Linked DNA regions of Homo sapiens: regions 2 and 3 are each linked to region 1. The links are contacts of gene promoters, found by promoter capture Hi-C in human tissues and cell types (Jung and others, 2019). All regions are on one chromosome and are shown on one strand. The core of a region is centred on a gene start or on the middle of the fragment in contact, and the rest is flanking DNA. Distances in the headings are between cores, read along the strand shown.

What was found. Contacts are between HindIII fragments. The study calls those that stand out against the background at their distance.
Region 2: a contact is called between a fragment that was not itself captured here and the fragment with the promoter of CHST8 in region 1, in 4 of the 25 tissues and cell types used here (H1 embryonic stem cells, bladder, dorsolateral prefrontal cortex and 1 more).
Region 3: a fragment that was not itself captured here is called in contact with the fragment with the promoter of CHST8 in region 1 in 1 of the 25 tissues and cell types used here (liver).

The regions. Positions count from the first base shown.
Region 1 is chr19:33,619,944-33,624,385 of GRCh38, forward strand. It overlaps CHST8 (carbohydrate sulfotransferase 8), which reads left to right and starts at 2,010. Exons shown (of 5, transcript NM_001127895.2): 1 at 2,010-2,353. RefSeq lists an enhancer at 971-1,715. The HindIII fragment of the contact is 24,734 bases long and covers 1-4,442 here.
Region 2 is chr19:33,414,414-33,418,855 of GRCh38, forward strand. The region is part of intron 9 of PEPD (peptidase D); the gene reads right to left. Among named protein-coding and RNA genes, the nearest start is that of CEBPG, 43 kb to the left of the region's middle. RefSeq lists enhancers at 1,922-2,071, 3,978-4,442. The HindIII fragment of the contact is 3,918 bases long and covers 104-4,021 here.
Region 3 is chr19:33,437,360-33,441,801 of GRCh38, forward strand. The region is part of intron 9 of PEPD (peptidase D); the gene reads right to left. Among named protein-coding and RNA genes, the nearest start is that of CEBPG, 66 kb to the left of the region's middle. The HindIII fragment of the contact is 8,430 bases long and covers 1-4,442 here.

The sequences.
Region 1 (4,442 bases), core at 760-3,259:
CCGTGTGTGTGCATGTGTGTGTGTGTGTGCATGCATTTGCCCTCTGGAGTGTTCATGGTACTGAAGAGATTCTCTTGACCATCAGGCCTCTGTGGCAAAAGTTGTGTGCTCTGTTCCAGGCCTAACTGCAGACAGGGAGCTCATGGGCAGCTGCCCAGCCAAGCTATGGTCAGGACCTTGGGTGGCAAGAGGGGCTGCAAGTGTGGGGTAAGGGGACCACAGGGACAGGGATGGGGTCATTGCACTGTGAGCTAGTCCGGCAAGTGACTTTTTGCTCACTCCACTCTCCCCTCTCTTTGTTCCTACCTTCTCTCCTGCTCTGCTCCAACAGCTTTGGGATGTAGGATGAATAAGGGTTCCACTGCCCTGTTTTTCCTGACACTTGAGTCCCTGGCCCTTGCACTCAGCTCCTCCAATCTGCACCTGACTGAGGCGGAGGAGGGTGATTTCAGACACACACACACACACACACACACACACACATTCCCCTCATGCGTGCAGCCAGTGGAGTGTGCCTGGGTCCCAGCGCAGCCCCAGGCCTGGGTCACTCCGAGCCTAAAGTCCTGGAAAGGGAACCCCAGAACAAAGCCTATCCCAGTTTGGAATCATCACACCTGGGCCATTCTCCAGATGCGTGGAGTCCAGCAAAATGGTGGCATTTTTGCATCTCAATTCGCTCATCTGTAATACGGGAGTGATAATGTCTACTCTGTTGCTGCAAGAATTAAAGGAAGACCATGATCTCTTTGTCATGCTTCTATTTATCTTCTTATCTGTCCTGGTCTATTTTTGGATGCTCTGAGCTTACCTGGGGCATTAAGGAGGCCTCATGGCCCTGGGGCTGAGGGGCTCCCTGGCCGTCCCCAGGAGTGGCTCTGCTCTCCGCCTGGTGTCCCCCACTCTGGTCAGTCAAGACCCATGGGCCCAGCTCACTCCCCAATTCCATCACTCACTCTAGGTCAGCTGGTAGGAGTCAGGCCAACCAGCCAGCAGGTACCATTAGAGAGGAGAGAGTAAGGGTCTTTCACTTTATTAAAGGCTTCTCTGCTGTTGTTTGAAAATACTGAGTGTCCCTTCAAGACTAACAGGTGACTGTGTGCACAGTTTCCTCCAGCTCCTGTGAGAAAGCAGTTGCCCCCCTTCCCAAGGCCTGCTTGTCCCCTGCAGGCTGGGGCTGCCTCTTCTTAGGAAGAACAAGGACCCGAATCCAGGGCCCCGTGTTCCTGTCCCTACTCTGTCCCGGTGCTGTGTGGCCGTGGGCCGGTTCCACCCTCCACGCTGTTTTCCCGAGTGTGTATGAAGAGGGTCGGTTGGCCCCGCTCTCAGGCTGGTGACCCGACACAAACTTCCAGGATGAAGTCCTGAAGGGAGCACCTGTTCGCAGGGCACTTTCAGCAGAATCTAGAGCCCCAGGGATTTGAGGATGGATGCGGACACCCGGGCCTGAGGCAGCTCGCGGCCTTGACCGAATTCCACGCGAGCTGAAGCCCAGGGATATCCCAGAATCTTCCTCAGGATCAATCTTCCGCCTTTCACCGGCCCTGCGCCCCCGCAGCATCGGGTCCTGGGCGCGCGCCCCTGCCCCGCTGTGGTCAAGGCCCGCCCCGGTGACGCCTGGTCCTTTTCCCGGGTTGGCGCCGCGTGCGACCCACCGAGGCAGTGGCAGCACTGGCCGCGGTCTGGAGCCTAGCGTCAGGCCGGAGTCCGGCTCTCCTGAACCGGGAGACCGGCGCAGCCCCAGCCACGACCGCTCCCACCCCCGCGGCCGCCGGACCGCGCCCAGCAGCGACTCTTTCTGAGAGCGCTGCCAGAGGGGCCGCGGGAGCCGCAGAGCGCGCGTGGGCGCGGCGCCCGCGAGCCCCCGGGAGGGCCGAGTGCATCGCTGGAGCGATCCCCGCCCGGCCCGGCCACCGCCGTAGCCGCCACCACGGCGGGGCGGGGCACGGGCCGGGGGCGGGGCGCCGGGCGGGCGCGGCGCTATTTCCAGCCTCGCCGGAGGCTTCGCTCTCACTTCGCTGGGAGCCTTCCCGGCGCGCAAGCCGGATCCGGCAGTGCTGCGGGGAGGAGAGAGGACGAGGCGGCGGCGGCAGCAGGAGGTGGGGGACCGATCGCGCCGGGGGCCGAAGAGGAACGCCGCCCCGCGCCCTCTCGCTCCCCGCACGCTCCGGCTGCCGGCCCCACGCTGCTCGCCCACAGATCGCACTGGGTTCCGCTTGGAGCGGGCGGAGGCACCGGGCCCGAGCTGGGTCGGAGGTCCTCTCCGCCGCCTGCGCGCCCCAAGCAGAGGATCCGCCGCGGAGAACCGCTCCCGGACTGGAGGCGCCCGCGGCCTCGGGTGCGTCCGCTGCGCCAGGTAAGTGGCTGCGCCCCTGCCCCACCCCTGTTCCCGCCCTGCGCAGGCTCCTGGCCTGCAGAGACGCCAGGAAGGGGTCCCGAGCGGGCCCCGGACTGCACCGCTCGCCATCCCCGCCACCGCACGCGAATGGGAGTCCGAAGCTGCGGGCGGAGGTGGGCGCGCGGGGCTCGGGTCTGGTTGCACTTTGGGGACCGGCCCCGGTAGCGGGAACTTTAATTAGACTTTCTCTCCTTGGATCTCACTCGCTGCCGCGCTTCTGGGAACTGCCGTCCCTCGGGCCCTCTTGGTCCCTGCGGACTCCCGCTCCGCCTCCTGGCCCTCGGTGCTGCCCGCGGGGAGGCGGCGTCGGGCGCTGAGCAGCGAGCGCCGAGGGCCAGGCAGGAGCGCTCGGGGCGCTGGGGCTTCCTGGCGCGCTCGGAGCCGGGGCTCCGGACGGGTTGCGGCGGGCAGAGACTATGGGGGAAGTTTAAGTGGCCTTGGCTTCCTACCCAGCGGCTCCGTCGCGCGCGTCCCCGACCCGCAACTCTCCAGGGCACCGGCCTGTGAGTGCTGGAGGCGAGTGTGCGTGCGTCAGCGATGGTGTGAAGGTGTGTGCGTGCGTGTGTCGGGAGTGCGGGAGTCGGAGCCTGGGGCGGCTCCAGGGGGCGGGGAAATGATCCGTTTGGCCGCGGGACCGAGCCGAGCTCTGACGGCGGCTGCAACTCCGGCTACCGACTCTGCAGACCCGCTCTGGCCTCGCTGGAGGCCAGCCGGGCCAGGAGGGCGATCACGGGTTTTGGCAGTGCCCGATGCTGGGGCTTGGGTCTGATGTGACCCCGATTCCTTCTCCAGTGCGGGACTCCCGCCGCCCTAACTTTCGCGTACATCTTGTCTCCAGGCCCGCGACCCCGACCCGGAGTTGAAGCGGCTGCGGCGCCCTCGGCTGTGGGCGCTGCTGCCCGGCTGTCTGTTTTAACCCAGAAGTAGGCGCCGATCCTGGGGCTCTCTGTCCTGCAGTCGTCTCCGGCGTCCCAGAGGACTCTGCGTCCCTGGGCCACTCCCGCTGGCTCAGGAGCCGTGATCAGCTCCGTTAAGGGGAACGCGCGTCCCGGCCCCTCTCCATCTGCTTGGCGCGATCTGGCGCAGCAGCAGAGCACGTGGGAGAGGCGTTGGGTGCAGGGAGGTAGTAGCTGCTTTGGAGTGGATGGTGGAGAGGGGCGGGGGACAGAGGGGTAAGAGGCAGATCAACCCCCTTTTATTTCCCACCGCCGCCCAAGGCCCCCAGGAGCTACAATACCAAGCCCACTTTCCTGGGTAACCTTTCTCTTCTGAGTTCACCTTGACCCTTGCCTACCTGTGGGGAAGTCTTTCCCTAAGTCCTGCCCTAGGACAGGGCACCCGTGGAGCAGGTGTGGCAGAGCCCTTAACATTTTCCAGCTGTCATGACCTTTCCTGCCCACCCTGTGCCCTGTCCCAAAGGCAAGGCAGACAGGCCACAGGAAGGACACTCATCCCAGCAGGAGATCCTCTTTTAATTTTAATCAGGACACCCCAAGCACAGAAGGCGGCGTGGGAGTTCATTCAGGAGCGTTCAGCAGACTGGCCTCTGTGAAGTGACCCACGGGAGGAATAACATTGGAACCCTGAAGAGAGGGACCTCTTGAGGGTCTGAATGTTGGTTCCAGTGGGACTGGCTGATCAATTATCCAATAGCATTTGAACACAGAAAAACCTCAAAGCCGGAACCTGACCCATTGCCTGGCCCAGTCGCCCTGGGACACACAAACAGTGCAGCTCATTTATTTACTTATTTATTTATTAACCTGGAATCAGACTCGGCAAGAGTGAATTATGTTTCCCGGGTATTGATTTTTAAAAAGACCCCAAATTAAAAAGTCAAGGCTTTCTTAAAGCAAGGTCAAGGATTAATTATTTATCGAGAGGCATCCATCAGGCAGCGTGGGGGCTCATTTATAAATTGCCTGAGCAGGCAAAATGAGCATCTTTTGATTTTCCTTGGCTCCAGTTGGGAGAGGAGAGCAGGCTCGTCTGACCTCCTGGGCTTGGTAGAACATCCCCCTCGGACTGTAACCGACGACAGAGGATG
Region 2 (4,442 bases), core at 813-3,312, 210 kb before region 1:
AGCTCCAAGGGACTGAGCCATTCTGCCTTGGTCTTCCTCTACTGAACCCAGCTGGTGAGGGGTGTGGTCGTGGGGAGCTGCCCTCACCCCCTCCCTGAGGCCTCGGCAACAGCTTTCCTGCCGGACCACAGCTGGTCCACCTGCCACCACGTGAGACAGGCCCAGGTGGCCCCCACCCGCCCACCCCCGACCAGGGCAGTCGTTGCGGCCGCCCAAGGGCACGCCACATGGCGGTCCTGCCCTGCACGTTCCAGGCCTGCCTTAGAGAACGTCCATACGAGGGAGTTTCATCTTCTAGGCACTGTCAACACAAATTATGTATAATTGTCATGATTGGATATTAAGCAGTTGTTATGCAGGAACGGCTGTGGTAGATTCAATGGGCTTTCAGACTTGCCTTCCAAACCTCACAGGATAATTGGGTATCTGCGAGTGAAATATTTCCTGAAAAGAAAGGATTTCAGGAGCTGCCAGGGAAGCAAGAAAGCCACATGCTCCTCTCCTCAGCCGCCCCCGTATTCGTGGTGCAAGCGCTCAGGAGGCCGCTTCCACCTCGCTCCTGGGAGTCTCAGCGCTGAGTTTCGCCACAGTCCAGGCACGTTCCTACCAAGGCAGGCAAGGGCAGTGCCCCACATGGCAAGCCCTGTGCGCCAGGCCAGACAGGCAGCCTCAGAAGCCACTTCACACCTCTGTGGCGCCCTCCCAGAAAGCCCGAGAAGAGGCCTGACCCACGCCGTGGAACAGGGGTGCTCCCTTGGCTTTGTGAGATGTGGTCCTGCACCAACAGAAGCGAACCTCAGAGGTCACATGGTCATTCTCGACGTGATGGCGACAGCGGACCTCTGTGGGACAAGTGACCTGCAGACAACCACGGGCTGCGCTGGGACTGGCCGGCTTCAGAAAAGACAGGCAGAGGGACAGAGATGCCATCCGCATGTGCAGAGGAACTCACATATTCTACAAGAAAGGAGCGGCAGGCCGGGCGCAGTGGCTCACACTTGTCATCCCAGCACTTTGGGAGGCCAAGGTTGGAGGACTGCTTGAGGCCGGGAGTTCAAGACCAGCCTGGGCAACACAGCAAGACCCCAGCTCTCAAAAAATCAATCAATCAATCAATACAAGAAAAAAACATCAGAAAGGGGAGGCAGTGAGGAAACTTGGCTCTCTCGCCTGCAGCAAGCTTCCCCCTGCATAACCCACTCAGTGGAGACAACTGTCTTTGAATGCCTTTGCTGCTTTTTAAGAAAAAAATAGTGCCTTCAAGAAGGCACAGCTCACAGAAGCATCAAACTAAAGAAAGGCTGACCCAGTTTTCACCTGCAAAGTGCAGCCCGACACTGGTCACCTTTGCCGGCCACGTTGACAACTCCACACACTGTTCCATAGGAAGGAGTTGAAAAGAGGAGGAGCACCACGTGCTGGATATTCACGCCCGCCTAAAAAAAGCTGAAATGCTTCACAGTGGACTTCAGTCCTGAATTTTGTTTTAAATGACCTTTTCTGACGCAACTTGAGGACACACTGGTGCTTTGGTGGCAATAACAGGTGGGCAAAACGAGCCCACGTTTTCTGCAGACTTTAGGCTTGGGGTGTGGACGCACAAGGGCACCCAAGTTCTGGGCAGCTGTGGCGGCACAGGGGGCCTGTGGAAGCGTGTGAGCCCGGCGCGGCACAGTTCTGATCTTCAAGCGGTGAGCACTGAGGGGTGGACATTCCAAACTGGGGCCCATGCTTGATGCGGACGCAACGTGTGCCCCCGCACAGCTGGGCCAGAGCTTGGCGAGTGGTGCTGGGATGACCAGGAGCAAGTGTGGGCTATGAGGACAGGCTAACAGCCTGTCCCGTGGATGACCGACATGCCATGGCAGTGGCAGCATCACAACTCCTCCAAGTGCGAGGCAGGAGGGGTCCAGCCAAGTCATCCCTGGAGCAGGCTAGCTACTACCCACCCAAAATAATTAACACCTGGAACAGGCTCTCCAGCAGAGGGCAGCAGCCAGCAAGACAGGCAGGAGTGTCACCGCCCCACTGCGACCATCTCCATAGGCTCCTTCCATAAATTTATGACTCACATCGTGCAGCCCCGGACCAGCTGGGTCTAACAGCCCCTGCTCCCTCCTGCTCACCTGGAAGGCGGATGGGGTGGTACACACACCCCAGCCAGGCTCAAGCCCAGCGCGCACCTCCTCCCCAGCAGCAGGGAGGGGCTTCCTGATTGGCTGAGAGGAGGCCGTGGTCTGCCTAAGTCCCAGCCAACGACATCCCGGCTGCTGTGTGGGCCCCGTTGTTTTTCCTTATGTGGCCATTCCTCTAACACCCTCACCTATAAATTTCTCCCAGGCAAGACTCGGGTAGAAGAGGCTTGTATCCAGGCATAAGTGAGAGAGCCCTTAAGCAACCTGGGGGAACTGCATGAGTGGTGAATAACGAGGTGGATGGAGTTACTGCAGTGTCAGTGGGGCAGGCACATCTGTCAGTGCCAGGAGATGACAAATGGGGCAGGAGCAGCAAGTTCCCAGACCCAGATCTGCAGGAATGGGGTCCCCAGAGACGGCGTCGCTGGGCCTCCCACTGGGACCCACAAATCCAGCCCGTGGAGCGCTCCCGGGCACACGGCCCAGCTCCTGCCCTCAGAAGTTTATCACCTAACATGAAGACGAGTCACAGTCCTATAAAAATGCTGCAGCTGCCCAGACAGCGGTAGAAGGGCTGCCTGGCAGCAAGTGTCGGCCAAGCTATGTGCCTCGAGCATGGGTGGGGTAGCGCCGAAGAGGTTAGTGAGGCAGTGTAAGGGGTGGCCCTGGCCACATCATTCCCTTTCCCCGGCTGGGCCTCAATGGATCTCAGGTACTCAAGAGGTGGAGAGGGGAGGCTGGGCCGGAAACAGAAGCTTGGGAGTGAAAATGCGCAGAGCTGGTGGAGCCCCCTCAGCTGGGCAGAGGGCTTAGGAAAGCAGGTAGTTGGGACATGGGGTTACAAACCTGAGGTGGGGAGGGTGTGTTCCGCACCCCGGTCCCTGTGCTGGGCTCCCTGCTCTGGGCCCCACATACCCAGCCTTCTGGGACTCAACACCAACCTCAAGGGCAAATCTTGGCTCTGCTGCTGGCCAGCTGAATGGCCTCTCCGTGCCTCAGTTTCCTCATCTGTAAAATGGGGATGATAGCGGTGCCTCCCTCCCAGGGCTGCTATGCCAGTCGAATGATTTAACATACATGGAGTATACACAATGGTGCCTGGTACCCAAGGAGCTCTGTGTACAGTGACCTAGCCATCGTGGTCACTGTTCAGAGGCCTGGAGGGAGGCTGGAGAATGGGGATCCCTCCTCAGGCAGCAGGAGAGGAGGTCGTGGGCATCCTGTGCCAGGCTTTGAGAAACAGCCTCTTGACTATTCCTTTAAAACCAAACAGAATCTGCATAGGTCCACGGCCCGGACACCCACTCCCGCACCCTCCAGGCAGCCAAGTTCTCTACAGAAGTCCTTCCTGGGCCCACACACTCCCAGCATCTCCAGGATGTTCACCAGCAAAAACGCGGAGGTGTGTCCTCTGCACCAGCTACCGGGACACGTGCGCACAGACAGGCTTCTGGCTGGACAGAGGGGGCCTGTGCCCACCATCCCTTCACAGCTGCCCCTCGCCCTCACGGAGCTGACCCAGGGTCCCCGCCTTCCCGGGGTGCGCCCAGGACTGGGGCACATAAGAGGGAGAGAGCCACAGAGAGTGAGAAGTACCTCATGATGTTTGGGGCCAAGCAGTTGTGCTGTGTATAGTCGTCTCAGCACTAAGTTGCTTATAATTCACATTTATTTTAAGTAATTGCTGCGATATTTTCTGGGTACACATGACCATAATTGTGTCATTAACGTGATACACCACTTACTAAGGGAAAATCCTTTTCAGAGTAAGGGCCATACAGTCCTGCAGGGGATGCCCTGAGACACCTCAGGCCGAGCAGAGCGTGCCTTATGGTCCCCAAAGTGGGAGCAGCTACTATGGAGGACTTGGAGCCAAAACCGGATGTTTCTACCAGTGGAGCCCTGGCATAGCTCCTTTTGCATGGAACCAGAAGCACGTACTACATTCTTCTTGAATTCCCATGGAAGGAGGGGAGCTGCTCCACGCCCTTCTTCTGGGGTGACCAGTGGGTCATCAGAAGGCACAGGCGAAGGCGCCCAAGCCCTACCCTTGGAATCGCCGCCTGGGTGGCACCAGCGACCTATCCAGGACCCCAACTCCCAGGCAGGTCCTGGCTCTTTTAGCACTGTTCCCCGTAGGTCTTCCAAAGAGCAGGTACTGGGACTTGGCAGTGAACTGGGGGACTGCTGCGTGCCTCCCCTTCCCCAGGCCCCAGCATGACGACAAACACAGACAAAGCTAGGAATGAGCACCCTCTGAGGCTCCGAGTGCCTGAAATGAGCAAGAGGCATTCACGTGATGTGTCA
Region 3 (4,442 bases), core at 1,346-3,845, 180 kb before region 1:
GCAGGAACCAGTTGCATCAATAAAGAAATGCCAATTTTCAACAGCCACACGAGATGCAGGGGTTCAGATGGATTTTGTGTCGGCAGACAGGGCGCCTGGAGGAGCTGTTATTAACAGCCAGAGGAGACACGGGGGCAGGCCTGGGAGACAGCACTCCAGAATCAGACTAGATTAAGAAGATACTGTAGGCACCAAGCCTCTAAGCATCATAAATAATGCTAAAATTTTAGACTGTGGTTGAACTCTCTGCTGTCACAATCGTTTAGATCATGATGCGTTTGATGTTTTATAGCAAGATGACAAATATCTTTCTCAACTGCTAAGTGCAGAGAGCCCGTTGGAATAAATCCAACCAAACTGCCCACCACAGGTAAGTAGGTGGTGTCATTAGGAGGAGACTTGGGGGGGCGGTGGTGTCAGAAATGCCTCAGGCAGTGATTTCCAAAGGCACGCCCCGACCGTGCAGTTCAGGCCATTTTTCTCAACCCTCGCCAGTTTCTGGCACATAATCTCATTGTTGGAAGAGGCAGGGTCCAAACTCTGAATAACACATGGAGTCTGACACCCTGGCTCTCCCCTCAGCAACAATGAAGTCACAGCAGAGCCAGAGAAAGGGACAGAAAAAACAATGCAGGAAGGACAATGTGGTGAAATGTCTAACCGTGAAACAGGAGCCGGTGCATGAGAGCCACGGGCAATTCTCCTGGGCTCCTGGAAGTAGCCCTCCAATCACACCAGCTGGCTCCCTGCCCAGACACAGGCTGCAGGGATGTCCAGGAACCCAGCTGGGATCTCAGAGGGCAGACCCAGGGTGCTGGGTTTCTAGCATGGACCCTCAGCTGGGCACAGAGAGAAGAGAGCCACCTGCTTGCTGGGCCCAGAACGACTCCCCACAGTTCTCCCAGGGTACAGGCTGTGCCCACTCTGCAGGGAAAACAATGCCCATCTTACAATCCTGCCCTGCAGGGGGCCCCAGACCAACACAGCTGGCTATCTCTTCTCTGAGCCAGACCAGGGTGACTCTTGTGGTTGCCAGAAAATGCCAACTGCGGGACATCAAGAGAAGAGGCAGGTCCAAGGGTCTCTCTCCCCTGCCCTTTGCCTTATGAGGTCTGATGCCAAGACCTACGTCAGGGCACTCTATGCCCCCAGTCTTGCCAACGGTGAGTGTTTCCACTACCCAGGACTGGAGTGGCCCTGAGGTGATGGGGGGCGGGCAGGGTTCTGCTGGAAGCCGACAGCCCAACCCTGGCAGGGGCAGCTGTCCAGGAGGAAAATATTCTCCCCAAGCTTTCTCCTCCTCGGAGCTGAACTGTGACACCTCAGTACCAACCAATGGCAACCCTGGGACAAAGGAGTGCTTCCTGCCCTTTTGAGACGGAGTCTCATTCTGTCGCCCAGGCTGGAGTGCAGTGGCACGATCTCAGCTCACTGCAACCTCTGCCTCCCGGGTTCATTCAAGAGATTCTCCTGCCTCAGCCTCCTGAGTAGCTGGGATTACAGGCACGCACCACCATGCCCAGTTAATTTTTGTATTTTTAGTAGAGATGGGGTTTTGCCATGTTGGCCAGGTTGGTCTCGAACTCCTAAGCTCAAGTGATCCACCTGCCTTGGCCTCCCAAAGTGCTGGGACATAAGAGACAGGTGGCGTGCCTTCTAGTCAAACAGGGGCCTATGCTCAAGGCCAGGCCAGTGGCACAGTTCTCCTCCCTGGCAGTGCAGAAGTGGCTGCCCAAGGACAGGACATGGAGTCGAGGTTGGAGGGGCTGCTTGAGACGTCATGGACTGTTTACCCCACGTGCTTCCCCTGAGGAGGGAAAAGTGCGACGTGGACAGGGCTCCCATAACCTGGGCACATCTCACATGCATCACAGCCCTGAGGGTGCCCCACTAGCACCTTAGTCCTGTGCCTCCTGGCCTTCCTGCCCCCTGCCTCCCTCTGGGCTGGGCACCTGAGCCGAGGGGTCCTGGCTGTTGGTGGCCCTGACTTCTGGCAGGACCCTGAGGAGCAGCACCAGAGCCTGCAGATCCTGTCCCAGAGGGGCCAGACCTCAGGCATAGGCGGGTCCGAGTAAAGACTCCTCCCCTTTGTGCACATGGGCCTGGGAGTGCGTGGGCCTAGGCCAGGGCGGGCTGGCCTCTGGTGTGGGCTGGCTGTGAGGTTCATTGAGCCTCCCCAGCTGCTCTCACTAGCAGGGCTGCCCGGCAATGCCTCTGGGGCCCAGGTCATTTGCTTTAGCTCCTTGGGAGCTCTCAGCAAAGGAGACACCCCAGGTGGGAAGGATCCGGCTGAGGGATGCCCACCACAGGGGTTTCCTCTAGTGTCTGTGGGTCACACAGCCCAGCACCGTCCTGAAGAGGCTGTCCCCAGCTCGTGTGGGGTGGCTGGCACCCCCGACTGTCAGCCTGTCCTGTGATTAAATGAGATCACAACCTACAGGGTGCTGCCACCCTTAAGGCTGATAAATGCCATTTATAAACTCCCTGGAGCAAATGCCAAACTTTCCAAGGTGGGGTTCCAAGAAAGGTTCTTGTTTTTGTAGAGATGGGGTCTTCCTGTGTTGCCCAGGCTGGGCTCGAACCCCCGGCCTCAAGTGATCTCCCTGCCGTGGACTACCAAAGTACTGGGATTACAGGTGTGAGCCAAGTGTCTGCCAGAGAGGTTCTTAAATGATTTGACACTGGCTTTTCCTCAAGCGTTTCTAAACCTTCTAAATGACAACCACTGGGACCTGCGCAAGACGAGTGATCCTGGCTGGAAATGAACCTCTGAACCTCTCCCCAGATGCTCTTCTGTTCATCCCTCTGCTGCCTCAACTTCCCCAGGCACAAGGGGTCTGGACTCTTCTCCCTGTCTTCCCCACCTCACTCAATAGCAGCTCCATCCTTCTGGCTGCTCAAATTCAGACCCCTGGAGTCATCCTGGACTCTTCCCACAACACCCAGCCCTGATGGGCTGCTGAGTCCTGCTGGCTCTGCCTTCACAACCTACCCAGGGCCTGCCTGCTCCTTCCCCATCCACTCCAACCCCAGGGCTACAGGAGCCTCCTCCTGGGCTCGCTGCTCCTGACCTGGCCCCTCCATCTCTGCTTTGGACAGTAGCCAAACAGCTGGACCGTGGCCCTCCTCTGCTCGGCCCCTCACCTCTCTGGCCCCACCTCCCACCTTCAGTCCTCTCCTCTGCCCGAGTCTCCTGGCTGTTTCTGTTCCCTGACACCCCAGAGCTCAGTCCCTCGCCCACTTTGGGTCTCACTTGACTGTCCGCTCTGTGCAAGGCTTTCAACATCATCCTACTCAACACTGTCAATCACTCCCAGGACTCCCTCTACTGCCGTCCCCGCTTTTATTTTTCCACAGTCCTGGTCACTATTGAATGCACTATGTATTTTACTTCTTTATTTGACTGATTTCCCCTCTAGAGCTTCACAGATGGGATTCCTTCTGTTGTGTCTCCCCAGCTCCTAGAAGAGTGCCTGGCACCTGTTGTTACTCAGCACGTGTGTAATCCGGTGAGGGGCACTGGCAGGCTGGAAATGACGAACACTCACCAGCCAGGTGACAGGGCAGGTCCATGGGCAGCCTGACTTCCCAGGATGGGTGGTGCATGATGGGCACCCATCAGCCTGCTTGGCCGGGAGCAGGGAGAGGATCGGGAGACCCAAGCTGTACTCCAGGCAAACCCTCTGAATGGTCAAATTGGAGTTGTCTGAAATGGACAACCCTACAGGTAATGTTTAGATGGTTCTGGCCCCACCTATGGCATCTGGAAACGATGTCTGATCCTGAAGGGATGATGAGCCTGGTTCTACTATCTCCACCAAGCCCAGGGAGCTCAGCCCTGGCTCTCCAAGGCCTCCTGAGATGGCACCTTCAGAAACACGCCCTGGCATTTAACATCTTTCGGGTGAGGCTGGCCTTTGGCCCTGGGACCACCTGGGAACGGTTGCCACATGCACCTCATTACAACACCAACACGTGCCCCTTATCAGCCAGCCCAGTAGTGCAGACCTGATTCCTCGATAACCACTGGGCTATCAGGCTCACTGGGGTTGGTGACCACATCCCCAGGAAATACGGCCGCCTGCAAGAGTGCACAGTCCCGGGGAGGCCGCCACCTTGCTCAGACCTGCACGTCTTTGCGCCCAGCCAGGCTGAATCCCTGGAGGGCTGAGTGAGGAGCCCACCCAGTCCTCCTTCCCCACCACCAGGGTAGGAGGCAGCCCTGTTCCTTCCCTTCACTCAGGAGCATTTATGAGCGCCTGCTGTATGCCTGACTCTGCCACAGAGAAAACAGTGTTGGGGCTGCAGCAATGGCCCCTGGCTTCCTGGCTGAGGCCGACCTTGACCCAGAGGTGGCTGGGGGATCTGAGCCCCTTCCCAGGCAGTCTCTTTCCACTTCATCAGGCAGAAACTTCTTCCTCACTAGAGCTGGCCTGACTCTG